Regions from separate parts of the Homo sapiens genome. Here all the other regions are linked to region 5. The links are contacts of gene promoters, found by promoter capture Hi-C in human tissues and cell types (Jung and others, 2019). All regions are on one chromosome and are shown on one strand. The core of a region is centred on a gene start or on the middle of the fragment in contact, and the rest is flanking DNA. Distances in the headings are between cores, read along the strand shown.

Region 1 (2,700 bases), core at 121-2,620, 310 kb after region 5:
AATAGCCATGGTTTTAATAATAAAAGATTACACTTTTTCTGAAGTTTATCTGTTTGCAGTCTTTGATATTTTATGGGTTTTAAAACATGCATCATCTTATAAATATATTTCCAAAGCCTAAAATCTTGGGATATATTTTTAAATTAAAATGTTAAACAATAACACCAAAGAAGAAAATCTCATTTGACTAGGCTACATAGTAACAGTGGGATAGAATAGTTGATCCACAGTGCAACTTTTCTTGGGCATTGGTGTCTCTATCTTTTCTATTTTCTATATCCTACACACCCTAACAATTGGCAAGTCATGAGATTTCTACTTAGAAGAAAAACCATTCTATTTTCACAAATACCATACCCAGTCAAGACATCTTCATGTACTGCAGAGACAACAGCAATACTGATCTAATTTGCATTCCATCTTCAAATCTTACTGTTTAAATTAATCCTCATAAGAGCAGTCAGTAATCTTTTAAAAAGATAGATTAGGGAATGTTACTTATTGTAATAAGAACTTGGTAATTTGGGCCAATCCTACCAATGTGGACAACTTGTGCTGCTGTATACATATACATCTCCAGATGCATCTTTGTGTATATATACATGAATAGGTGTGTACACACACACACATACACACACATTTGAAGGCTTAGAAGACTAATAAGAGAGTAAAAAAATGGTGTTACCATCTGGCTAAAGATGGAGATCTGGAGAGGTGGGCTACTCTTGCCTTATGGGTTTTCACTCATTTCAGGAGGGTTGGTTGATCAAGTGTACAGTGCTTTTGTCAGACTCATGGGACTGAGTCCAGGGTCTACCAAAGTATGGGGCTTGGCAAATGTCCCTGGTCTTGGGTTGGGACCCCAAATGGCAGTGCTTTAGCAATAAAAGAAAATCAGAATCAGGCACTCTCACAAGGACCACAGCTTTGCTTTGATTCTCTCCATCTCTGTAATCCTACAGAGCAAGGACGATGAACAAACCAAAGCCAAAGCCAACAAAAAGCAAATTCCACAAACATAGCATGGAATAAATGTACCTAGACACAAAAGAATAGATACTAAGTTATTTTATTTATTTCAACACACAATATATAATGTTTAGGAATGTATTCTTAGGTGTTAAGGTCATATGAAAAATCAAGAAAGTATTTATAATAAAAGGCAAGATAATGGTTCCTCTGGTGTACAGAGGAGAGAGAACATAAGAAAATCTTCTGTGTTACTGCCAATCTTCCTCTATTTTGGAGTGATGTGTACACATATGATCACTTTGTGATAAATCAGCAAGTGTATATTTTATTTTGAAATTTGTGTACCTGTGTGCTGTATTTATACTAAGAATGTTAAATTGTAAGTTAGATCATATTACTCTGTATTGAAAATATTCCAGTTACCTGTGATTGTCTACCTCCCTGTTCTCATCTGGAAACAGCCTGCCCCCGGCCCCATTGCTCGTTTTACTCTAGGTACATGGAATTCCTTGCTCTTGTTCAAAAGGACAAAAATCTTGCCCATTTTAGTCTTTGGACTTGAACTTTCTTCTCTTCCTGCAATACACTTTTATTGACTTGATCCATAATTGTTTCCCAATCCTTCAGCCCCCTATTAATTGTAGCCTTCTTAGAGACGTATTTCTTGACCAGTCATTCTAAATTGACAACTGAAAACCCAACAAATGCTCCATATCGCCTTGTTTATTTCCTTCATATTGGAAAGCAGATGATGACATTTGATTTGTAATTAATATATCTTTTATCCAAGGTAAAATATTTGCTGTAATGTAAGATCTATGATGGGAGGTATACTTTTGGTTTTTATTCTCAGCACTAAATGAATCATAGGCCAACGAAAATTATTTTGAGAAAAGACTTTGTGCAATTCCTAAAAATTAGTCTATTATACCATGGGTGGTAGGAGAAGCTTAGGATCTCATCATATAATTTGGTTATCCTAGCTATGCTGCTAAGCAAAACAAATATTTATTTAGCCCAGATATGTAGAATTATCTTAGACAAATTTTCATATGTGTCCAGTGCCAGTTTTCAAAATGACGTCTTTTTATGGCAACACCTAAGTGAAGTATTTCTTTCAGGGACATTATACACAAAGGAAAGTAAATGTTTTAGTTCAGGTGGTAATGACAAAGTTTTCGTAATGATACAAGTTATTTGTAATGCTAAAGTTATTGCGTTTCATTTTTACTTGAGGAATTACATATGCCATTTTAGAAACTTTACTTGGATGTGTATGACTGTATTTCCCGCCGTAGTTAGTTTTTAAGAAAGAATGTTTCACCTAAAGCCATATTCACCTTTCCAGAGTAAAAAATCAATATTTAGCCTTAAATTAATAAACTATGTTTTTGTTATTATTGGTCCTTTTGATACTGTATCTCTTTCCATTTCATTAAAATTAAATAACTTACCTGCCATATTTATTATCTGAATACTAATTTATTTTCCCATTTAATTTTTTTCTTTACTCTTTGGTGTTTCTTTGCTCAGACCAAACCTAGTCTTGATCTAGTTGCACTGTGCTTTCTTTGAAGTTCAAATGCATCTAATGAATCATGGCAGTACTCTCTATCACCTTACAGGCATCAAAGTAAATCAGCCAGAACAGGGATAGAAATTCCAAAGGTCCCTGCCACCTGTGCTGCAACATTCACTCCAAGTAAACACTTAGTCATCTCTTTAGTT
Region 2 (2,700 bases), core at 91-2,590, 350 kb after region 5:
GGGCGAAACCAAGATCTGGATGATGCTTTTTTTTTTTTTTTTTTTTTTCCAGAAAGCAGTGCTTTTTTCCTCCTTTTCTGGTACTAAATTAAGATGATTTCTTTTTACTAAAGAATTCTGGTCATGTGTATACTCACTTACCGCTATATATTCTAGATAAACAGATATTAATTTCATAATTAAAAGTAATCTTGTGTAAATACCCTGCAGGCCTCAATGAATCAAACACATACTGTGTGTCAGGCCTCCCACTGTCTTCAAGTGGAATGTACTGGCTGGATAATTAGATAGTACATATTTTTTAACCTTATTTGCATGCATATTATATCTTTTGCACACTGACAAGCAGCAGTAACAACAAAAGTCAGATTACCACAGGGAATTCCCACAAAGAAGTCTTCATTCCTTATAATTTGCAGCCTAAATTAAAATAATTTGATCTTTGACAAGGATGAAATGTCAAGCAGAAGGGGGTCCTCTACAAGCCACGGCCTGTGGCTTCTGAAATCTGCCTAATTTATGTCAGTCACTTCTTAATACATATTTAAGTATTACACGAAAAAGATGATAAATATGCAATCTGACACCTTTGGTATTTCCCTGCTGTTAATTTATAAAGGTCTGGCTTCCCCCAAACTGACTAAAATCATTTAAATAACAGAAGAATCATGAAATAAGCTGGAGTCAGGGCCTGGCTTCCATTTTCACTCAATATTGAACACAGCAGGTAGTACACTAAGACAATTATTTGACTAGGCCTTAGAACCCCACTGTGACAAGTTACTTTCAGAATTAGTGAAGGAGGATTCCTTTGTTCATCTGCAGAAAAGGAGAGCATGTTGCAAAGAGGCTTCTTTTTTTTTTAAAAAAAAGAATTGAACCAGCTGAGTTACATGTGACAATTGAAAAACATGAGTGTATGCTATTATTCATGTTTTCACTCTTCAGAGTTTTGTCATGTGTAGTTTTAGGGAAACAGAGTAAGTAGCTCTCTGAGAAGTGAAAAAAAATTCTCAAACAGTCGCAAAGAACAAGGACTGATGAAGAACATTGATGTTCCTTTGAGAGCAGGACAATGTACTTAAATAAATTGCTATTTATTAATGATTTGTTTCCACTTGTTCTTGACCCTAGGCTACCTTCCTCTGTTTGCTTTAACGTTATGTTCATTAGTCTGGAAAATTTCAGTGCTGGTTCTGATGGAGACCAGTAATTGTAGCACACCAGTTGAGTGCATGAAAGTAAAAGCTGAGGTGAAGGCTATGAAATATAAACAAGTTATAGTACTGTGTCAGATAATATTTTCATTCCCTTTGAGATTTATGACTTTTAAAAAGGTAGCTACAGAGGAAAAGAATATAAAAGCTTAAAAGCTAACAGCCTCAGTTAGTCAATAAATCCTGAATATTTTTATTAGGTAGAAAAAAGGTCGTTAACATATAGTACTATGGGAGCTATTTATAGAGTGCAAGGCTGTGATGCCATTGTCTGCTCTTTTCAGTTTTAAAATAGAGGATCTTATTCCAGAGACAAATATAATTAAAAGAAAAGAAGACGGTTTCAATTTTTCTGCCAATGTGTTTTAACCTTCATAAATAAATGAGTCCTGGGTCACACCGTACAGAGGTGTTAAAAACAAGCTTTATATGTGACTTTAGTGTTTCAGATCCACTTAACATGTCAGTTGATAGGACTATTCAAAACATGTGAAGAACTTTGGAGAGCTCTAAGTGTGGATGGTAAATGTGATGAGATACAATTAATGATAAACTGTAATTTTTTTCCATAGTAGGTCTGATTCTATGTCTATATCAGATAAGAATTATTTCTATTTTTACTCAATGAAACGTAAAACATTACTTTATAGGTAATTTCAGTATTAGGACACATGGGGCAGAGACTATGCTTGGGAACTCTGGCTATTGCCTCTAAGAACTCTGTTTTCCAGGTTACTGAGCAATAAGAATATTGTCTTTTGAATCCTGCTAATTTATTTTGTGTTTTTGATGCTAGTCATGCCATTCATTAATTCTTGAGATCATTTAGGTTTCTAGGGGTATTTAATCATTACAATAAATCAGTACTTTGGGATGGAAATTCTTGGCTTTAAAATTTACCATCTTTCCCAGTATCCCTGTCAACCAAAAGACTGAAATATCTATAGAATAGGCTTTCTTATTCTCTCATTAACTTTGCCTGGTACTCTGAGCAAACTGAACATTCATGAACTCTGTATCTTCAATTCCAAATGCTGACCTGAGTTTCTTAGGCACACATTTCACCCCTCCAAATACTTTAATATAAACATTGGTTTTAAAATATTTTCTTGTAATTTTAAAGAATTTATTTTTATCTTTTGTAATAAAGTTAGAAGATAAATGAATATCTTTAAAAAATTCTACTTCGTGTATCATTAAATCTTTACATGTATGTGTAAATACATATATTTTTCAATCAATTTGCTCATTAGATTTAAACATTGTGGCAGCAACATAATTCTTATTTCTCTTAAATTACTGAAGAAAATGTTTATCTCTGCAATGGAGATATAACAGTATCATAAGGTTTTGATAAAGACTAAATCAAATAATATATGTGCATTGTTTAGCATCACCTGTGAGACAGTTAATAATAGGTAAATCTTAACTATTATTCCATGATATTCATATCAACCCAAATATTTGCCCTCTTTTGAAGGTG
Region 3 (2,700 bases), core at 180-2,679, 290 kb after region 5:
TTTCAGATGTAACAGTAAAGATATGAAATGATGTACATATGTAGTTTATGGATTCAGGGTCATTGTTCTATAGTCAGAGCCAAGATATTTATATCAAGTACTGTGGGCTTTCTGATTTATTACATTGTTGTATTGACACAAGGCAGAAGTGCTAGTTTTGAGAATAATTTGGGATATTAGTTGAATGGTAAATTTTCACGTGATAAGGTTCAGAAAATAGATTTTAACTGAATGACAACTCTACATACAAATACTGGCTGTATCTCCACTGGCTAAGCTCATTTTTCTTTTGAAAAGGTGTCTTCTAAAACTATACAGACATGATACCACTCAGTTGTTACTAGTAAGTAGCTTTAAGTTCATTCTTTGTGTAATTTACTTTTTTAAAATTTAGTTCATATTGAGGTGAGTATGTATATATGTGTGCAAAAAAGATGTCTGAATATCAGTAATTTCTCATTGTACTAACAGATAATCAAGATGACAATACCTAAGTTTATTTACAAACTTTACTTCAGGAATTACTCTTTTGAGGATTTTAAATTATTAGAAACATATTTGTATTTCATTGTTTTGTGGGAGATTATTCTAGACCTCATGACAAATGTCCCTTTTTGATACACTTGAGGGGCTTTGGCTAATAGGAGTTCATAAGTTGCTTTGCTCAACTGCAAGACGGTTCCAGGATTTACAGTAGCAGGTGATTGCCAGTTTGGTCAATGAATGGCTGTTAGCTCCTGAATAGCTCCTCAAAAGAATGTGACAGCCCCATGATCCACATGTTCCTCTGCTCTTGGCACTGTACTCAGGAGATTCCTTGAAGGTGATACGCAGTGATAGTTTCAGTGTTTGGAAACAGCCTCCAAATTTTATTTTATTTTTTCTCTCGGCAACGACTAATCCTACCTTAATCCACCTGGCTGGAGTTTTCTTACTAAAATGCAGACCTCCTCAAGTCACTTTCTACTAAACTCTTCAATGAATCCTAGTTACCCCAAACTCAAAATTGTTGGCATGGCATAAAAGGCCCTCCCTGCTTGCTTTTATATTATCTTTATCACTTGATACCTTTCCGCATTAACATCAGACTTATAGTTTCTCACTCTGTATTGTTTCTAACTTTATGTGTGTCTTAGTTTGTGCTGCTATTAAAAAATGTCATAGACTGAATGACATAACAATAAAATATTCATCTCTTACAGTTTAGAAGGCTGGGAAGTCCAAGATCAAGGTGACAGTGAATTTGGTATCTGGTATTTGGTATCTGGTGAGGGCTCTCTTGTTGGTTTGCGTACACTTTCTTCTTGTTGTGTTCTCAAATGGCAGAAAGAGGGAGAGGGCTCTGGTCTGCTTTTTTTTTCTTATAAAGGCACTAATCCCGTCATAGAGGCTCCACCTTCATTACCTCATCTACACTTCATTACCTCTAAAAGGCCTCACCTCTAAATCCTATCACATTGAGGATTAGAAGGTCAAATATGCATTTTTTGGGGGGTGCACTTCAGTCCATAGCAGTGTGTGTGTGTGTGTGTGTGTGTGTGTGTGTTTGTGTGTGCGTGTTATAAATGTGATTTCTTCTGTTTGAAATGGCCTTCTCTGTTGTCCTAGATGAAAGTATTTTCCTTCTTTAAAATACAGATTAAACATCACTTTCTCTGAAGCATCTCTCTGTCACCTCTGGGCAGAAATAATTCACAGTTTTTATGTTACCATTGCCTTGAATATACTTAAGTTCTATGTTTATTCTCATGACATTATAGATTTGTTTTGCTTTGTATTGTTTTGTTTTTAAATGTGCATATCTTCTCATCTTAAGGCAGTTACCATATTTCATACATCTTTATAGTCCCAACTCCTAATACAGGCCCTGGTATAGGGTTGACACACAATAAAAAGTTTTTGTATGAATATTTCTTGAAATAATATTGGATTATGAGCATTCTTTTCACCAAGAATGAAACACAAAGTCCTTGGTCACAATTTGACATGAGCCTACTTCTTCAACTAATCCAGGCTTACATTTAAATCTTTCCACATTTTTTTTCCTTCTAATAGCTTTTCATGCAGACAGAGGAAAGCAACATTTAACAAGCACTTAATTGCAACATGTGGGAATGAGTCAAATAGTGGTCATGTGTGGAACTTTTAATAGCGCCAATTCACATAGGGTCTCTGCTCGCTAGAAAGGCCATGCTTCCTCTGCCTCAGATATTTGACAGAAGACAAGCAACAGCTGAAACAAATACTGTCTTTAAACAAATCAACTAGCAATTCTTAATAGTGGTAGGTTTAACAATTACATAATGTCAGTGATGTCCCACCAGTAACAGATTAGAAGAATTCCAAGTTTGGAAACATCTCTAAAACTAATTCATAATTGCCATGATATGATGATGAGGCCAAATTTTGGCACAATGCAAATTTTAAATAACAGAATAAGCTGTCATTTAGTCCTGACTTTGTACAGTAGGTGAGCGTTTAATTAATTCTTATCTAATTCATAGAGTAAAGAAATTACTCTTTACTAACATAAAGACAGATTTCTGAAATCCTCTTCTTGCTTTTAGTTGCTAGCCTCACATACTATAGTGATAGACCTATTCGTATACAGGGAATATTTGGGGGCTTTTAATATTCAAAAATTAGATGGTACAAAGTTCATATCACTATGAGGCAAATCACTGAAGCTTTATTCTCAAC
Region 4 (2,700 bases), core at 42-2,541, 330 kb after region 5:
AGCATTAGGAGATATACCTAATGCTAGATGACGAGTTAGTGGGTGCAGCACACCAGCGTGGCACATGTATACGTATGTAACTAACCTGCACAATGTGCACATGTACCCTAAAACTTAAAGTATAATAATAAAAAAAAATATTGCAATAAATGGAATGTAGAAGCAGATATGAGAATCCAGCTGTCTTCTATTAGACCAGACATTACAGAGATTTATAAAAAGCAATACAGTGCCACTCTTCTTACTAAATTTTTGTTTTTTAAATATAGTTATTTAAAAATATATTTATAGTAACATGTAATAGGTTTATTAAGACTTTTAAATGAATACATATTTTAATAATTTCTCAGCCTTAATGTTTTATATGGTAACAATAGATGTACCTCACATAAGCAAAAGTTCTTTAGGATTTTCAATAATTTTTAAGAGTATGAAGGGATCCTGAGACTAAAAGTTTGAGAACCAGTGTACTCTTTGGCTAATTGGGCTAGATGAGCAATAAATGATATGTAGGCTGTAGATCTTATAAGATAATGACTTGCCAGGGTGTGAAAGATAAATCCTCTAAAGAGTCAATTCATCTTTGTATTATGCATCCAGTGGTCTATAGTATGTCAGGACATGTTCTCCAAAATAAAAGATAAAGTATTGTATTTTATACTTACAGCACTAAGAAAAAGTGCAATGTTGGTACCTTGTCCCCATTCCTATAAGTTCATCCACAAGCATCTTCTTTGGAACACTTTGTTAAGATCTACAGGTCCATTTGTATTCTCACCTTGGGCTACTCTCTATACAAAGGATAACTGGGCAGGCTCCCAGAGCTCTGCTCATTGGGAATTTCTCCTTTCCACTACCCCAAAAGCAGCACTGCTGGAATAGCAGCCCTTTTTTAGAAGCACACTAACAAAGCAAGATAAACTATTCAAGAACTCTCATTAAAGCTTTTCCTTCTCTGACATTTGGTCCTAAGAGTCATAGGTGGGAGCTGAGGGGGAGGCGGGGGTCCAGCAGTGGTGGGAACAACAGACACTCATGCAGCTTTCCTCGCTCTCTGGCCCTACATGTCTGATCCAGGTGTTCTATCTACTTCTATCTTACAATGAATTCTGAGCTTATGACTTGGTTGGTCTAACAAAACTCAGCATATGGTGGGCCCTGTGATTTCATTATGGTCACTTGCTATGGTCAGATGATCCATATTTATAGAGTCCAAGTAGCACGTCCAGAGCTTGTTCTCAGTTGACATATAGTTTTCTGCTGCCAATGCCATAGCCTTGCTCCACAGCCTTAGACTACATTGTGATTCTCTTATTGAAGTGTGTCATCAACTCCACAAAGCATCTTTTCCACATATATATATGTACCGCATATGCGGTACATATATGTACTATATAGTACATATATATATGTGTACATATATAGTACATATATATAGTACATATATGTGGTACATATATATATATAGTCCTGTAGGGTCTGTCCTATAACTTAAGTTACAGGGCTGCTTGCATTTCAGATTGACCTATAATAGAATCATTTTATGGTCTGCATCTGACACAAAGCTATAAGCCTCTGTTATTAGATAAAGTAGTTAGAGCCATACTCACAAGTGCAGGTCATACTGCCTACCAACTTTGCCCTTTCTGTTTGCATAACCTTATTAAATAAACCTAATGATGACATGATAGGAAAAATAATTCATGACCATTCTCATGAACATAGATGCAAAATTTTAAATGTAATATTAATAAATAAAATCCAGTGTTGTATAACAAGATAATACAACATTCCAAGTTAGATTTATTTAAGGAATACACGGTTGCTTTAAAATTTAAAAATTCAGCAGCCAGGAAAGGTGGCTCATGCCAGTAATCACAGCACTTTGGGAGGATGAGGCGGGCGGATGACTTGAGCCCAGGAGTTTGAGACCATTCTGGAAAACATGGCAAATCCCTGTCCCTACAAAAAATACAAAACTTAGCCAGACATGATGGCACATGCCAGTGGTCCCAGCCGCTTGGGAAGCTGAGGTGGGAGAATCTCTTGAGCCCAGGAGGCAGAGGCTGCAGTAAGCCAGTATCACATCACTGCACTTCAGCCTGGGCAACAGAGTGATACCCTGTCTCAGAAAAAAAATTAAGCAATGTAATTCTCCACATTCACAGGATAAAGAATAAAAAGTATGATTCTCTCAATAGATGAAAAACAATAATTTTATAAAAATCAACATGTATTTATAACAAAACATAGTAAATTTGAAATAAAGAAGAAATCTTTAACCTGAAAAGGTGTATCCATAAAAGTATACAAGGAACATTAGAGAAATGGTGAACTATTGAAATCTCCCCCACAGCCTCCAATATCAAGAACAAGACACCAACGTCCATTTTCACCCCATGTATTCAGCCTTGCACTGGAGACTTTAAACAGAGAAATAAGAAAAAAAAAAAAAAAAGAAAAGGATTAAGGGTAAAAAAAGAAGGAATGAACCATCATCATTTATTGATGGCATGATATTTATTTAAAGTCCAACAGTCTATAGATACAGTATTAGAATTGATAAGTGATTTTAGAAAGCTGTGTATTTTGGTACAACAAAAACAATTAGAGAGTAAAAGTTAGAAAATATATTTTTTAGAATAGCACTGTTAAACACCAAATATCTAGGCATAAGACAGCTACATAGAAAGTTATAAA
Region 5 (2,700 bases), core at 193-2,692:
ACACACGCACACGCGCGCGCACACACACACACACAGACATGCATACATAAGTCTAATGGATCTTCTCTGAATAGAAAAATAGAAGTCCATAGTATCAACTCTAATATTCATTTTCTCACTTATTTGACAGTGAAAGCTTATGTTAAGCAGGCAGGGAGAGTTGCTTCCCAGTGCCGATCTTAGCACATTACTATTTATCAATCATATATTCATGGTATCTCAGCATCAAAACAACCTGAAGCATTTACACTTAAAGTTGTTTTTAGGCTGGTTCAATGCTAGATTAAAACAGTGGGTTTTATTCTCTCTTGGACAGCCCCTCCTCCCCACCCCACCCCCACAAAAAAAAAAAGCAAAAAGAGTAGAGAAATGAAAAAAAAAAAAAAGAGAAAATGAGAAAAAAAAAAGAAACAAAAACACCCCATATAAACAAAAAGTGTCAGCATTTGTCTCAACTTCATTCTTTTCAATGTGGCAGACAAACCCAGCCAAAAACTTTGAGTGCAGCAGCTGCTGCTGCCCTCCATCTCCTCTTCCACTCATGTTGGGCACTTTAATCAGAAAAAGGGGTCTTAAAAACAAAACTATGCCTTATCCAAATCACTGAAAGGTAAGCTCATTTTGAAGACTGGGCTTCTAGAAGCAGAGTCGCCCTACAGTGGCAACAAAGCAGATAAGTATCTGCAATCCCAACCCCCGTGCCCCCTCCCTTCTCATTTTCTCCCTCTCCCCACCCCCGACGGAGTCAAGTTTATAAACAGCAACTTTCAAACTGATCACTCACATTGGTGACCATGTAAGGCACTTGCTGGTCATAAAATCCATCCATGCTGCTGCTCTTCGCAAATCTCAGCTCAGTATTTTATATTTTGAGCATTTAGCTGGAGATTTCCTCAGGATCTGGACTTCTATCAACCTAGAGGGGAACAAGATGGCTTTTAGGCTTAAAAAAAAATCATGAATGAAGCTCTTGAATTTGCATAGCTAATTACCCTCCGACAGTCCCATTCACAAAAATAACCCTCCCTACACCGCCTCCTTCACCTGGATCCAAAGAGAGCCAACAGAGTTCACAATTTACATATTTTCGGTAGTAGCAAAAATCCGAACAAGAGGCGATGTATTTATTTACACTCTCGATGTTTCCCTGCGCGGTCGGTGTACCCCGGGCAGCTCTGATTCGCAAACGTGTGCAAAACTAGCAATGGCGATCAACGAGACTTGCTTTGCACCTAACGGGACTAAAGAGACGGAGACACCTCTTTCATCAGGATAGTTTTTGCGACCCACAACCATGCAATTATCTGGAGAGACATAAAAAGTTGTTGGAAAGACCCACCTGAAGGCCACGCTAGGCGAAAGGCTGCAAAAACTTCCCTCCAAATTTAATAAAAACATTAATTATAGCCCAGCACTTCCCCCTTGGAAGCCGAAAGCGCCTCTGACAGAGCTCAATTCGGTGGTTTTTCCTCTACTTCTCCTCCAGGGGCCTCCAATCCAAACTGATGGATCGCTGCCTCCCATTGGCTCCGCGTCTCTTTCACAAGATCAGATTTCGGGCTGTCAATCAGGCGGCTTGCTGCCCCTTCCCGCGGGTCTCCCTCGCCCCTCTGCCCTAGGGGGTGCTCGGCCGGTAGGCGCTGGGTCCTCAGCCTGGAAGCGCCACGGAGAGACTCGATTTCCTCTGTAACCCGCTGCTTATTGTTAAGGCGCCTGGGGATACTGAAACCGTGTGTTTCGAGTCGCCAGTTCCCATTATTGGGGTGTTAGGTCCACTATTGGGCTGGTTTCCTTAAAGTACTGTTGTGCGGTTCTGGTATACCCTTAGAGCCGCGATCCACAAAGCCCGTACCGCCTTATTCAGCTGCCCTCCCCTCAGGATCTCCAACCTCTCTACTCTTGCCCTGACTAGGAGCTCACCTCGCTCTCTATCCTCATTCCCACTCAGCTTTTGGCCCAATTTATTTTCCCGTTTTTCAAAACCCACCATCACCATTATGGTTTATCGAAACATTTTTTAAACAGTCATCCTCAACTAAAATTAGATCCTATCGTTCGTGGGACAGAAACATAAAGAATCTATAAGGAAGGCACCTAGGAGATGCAGAATTGCTGATTAGCAGAGGTTGTGATGGGAGGACAACAGAGCAAGCTAGGTGAAAAAGTATAAGTCAAAATGGTCCCTACGTGTGCACTGGGAAAAGGTACTTCCAGTCCACTGTGGCTGTGGGGAGGAGGAGGGAGTGCTTGGGGTTGCTCGTATATCCTAGAACCCGCACGTTTCCTGAGCTTTTGTTATGTATACACGGAGGCGGAGGGTGTCACTTACTGTACTTGACGCTTTCACTTCCTCTCCAGCTTTTAAACAGCCAGAGCCCAGGGTTGGGGGCGAGCGGTGAGATGGCTCGGGTTTCAAGGACAATAACTAGGACGTTAAGCAGTGAGGGCTGCATCTCTGAAGCCACTTGCCCTGATCCTCCTATGGGACTCAGAACAGTAAAGCGTCACTTTAAGGAGCCAGTGTCCAACAGCGGACGGGAGGCCGCGGGGATAGGACCAGGGACTCAATGCTGTTGAAATTCATTTGTGACCAGAACTAGTGACCAAAAGACGTTTCCGGCAGCTGTTCCGCCCGTTAGGAAACGTGCTGCAGTTCTCAATTTCTATTTGAAAGTTTCCTTCCTTAAATAGAACGTTATG

What was found. Contacts are between HindIII fragments. The study calls those that stand out against the background at their distance.
Region 1: a contact is called between a fragment that was not itself captured here and the fragment with the promoter of ETV1 in region 5, in 2 of the 25 tissues and cell types used here (H1 embryonic stem cells and lymphoblastoid cells).
Region 2: a contact is called between a fragment that was not itself captured here and the fragment with the promoter of ETV1 in region 5, in 1 of the 25 tissues and cell types used here (hippocampus).
Region 3: a fragment that was not itself captured here is called in contact with the fragment with the promoter of ETV1 in region 5 in 2 of the 25 tissues and cell types used here (dorsolateral prefrontal cortex and hippocampus).
Region 4: a contact is called between a fragment that was not itself captured here and the fragment with the promoter of ETV1 in region 5, in 1 of the 25 tissues and cell types used here (mesenchymal stem cells).

Annotation. Positions count from the first base shown.
Region 1 is chr7:14,301,075-14,303,774 of GRCh38, forward strand. The region is part of intron 23 of DGKB (diacylglycerol kinase beta); the gene reads right to left. Among named protein-coding and RNA genes, the nearest start is that of ETV1, 310 kb to the left of the region's middle. The HindIII fragment of the contact is 4,003 bases long and covers 1-2,700 here.
Region 2 is chr7:14,340,134-14,342,833 of GRCh38, forward strand. All of the region lies in intron 22 of DGKB (diacylglycerol kinase beta), which reads right to left. Among named protein-coding and RNA genes, the nearest start is that of ETV1, 350 kb to the left of the region's middle. RefSeq lists an enhancer at 1-982. The HindIII fragment of the contact is 4,367 bases long and covers 1-2,700 here.
Region 3 is chr7:14,273,429-14,276,128 of GRCh38, forward strand. The region is part of intron 23 of DGKB (diacylglycerol kinase beta); the gene reads right to left. Among named protein-coding and RNA genes, the nearest start is that of ETV1, 290 kb to the left of the region's middle. The HindIII fragment of the contact is 7,161 bases long and covers 1-2,700 here.
Region 4 is chr7:14,319,162-14,321,861 of GRCh38, forward strand. The region is part of intron 23 of DGKB (diacylglycerol kinase beta); the gene reads right to left. Among named protein-coding and RNA genes, the nearest start is that of ETV1, 330 kb to the left of the region's middle. The HindIII fragment of the contact is 3,875 bases long and covers 1-2,700 here.
Region 5 is chr7:13,988,224-13,990,923 of GRCh38, forward strand. It overlaps ETV1 (ETS variant transcription factor 1), which reads right to left and starts at 1,443. Exons shown (of 14, transcript NM_004956.5): 1 at 1,340-1,443; 2 at 1,045-1,241; 3 at 785-916. The coding sequence starts at 829. The HindIII fragment of the contact is 5,948 bases long and covers 1-2,700 here.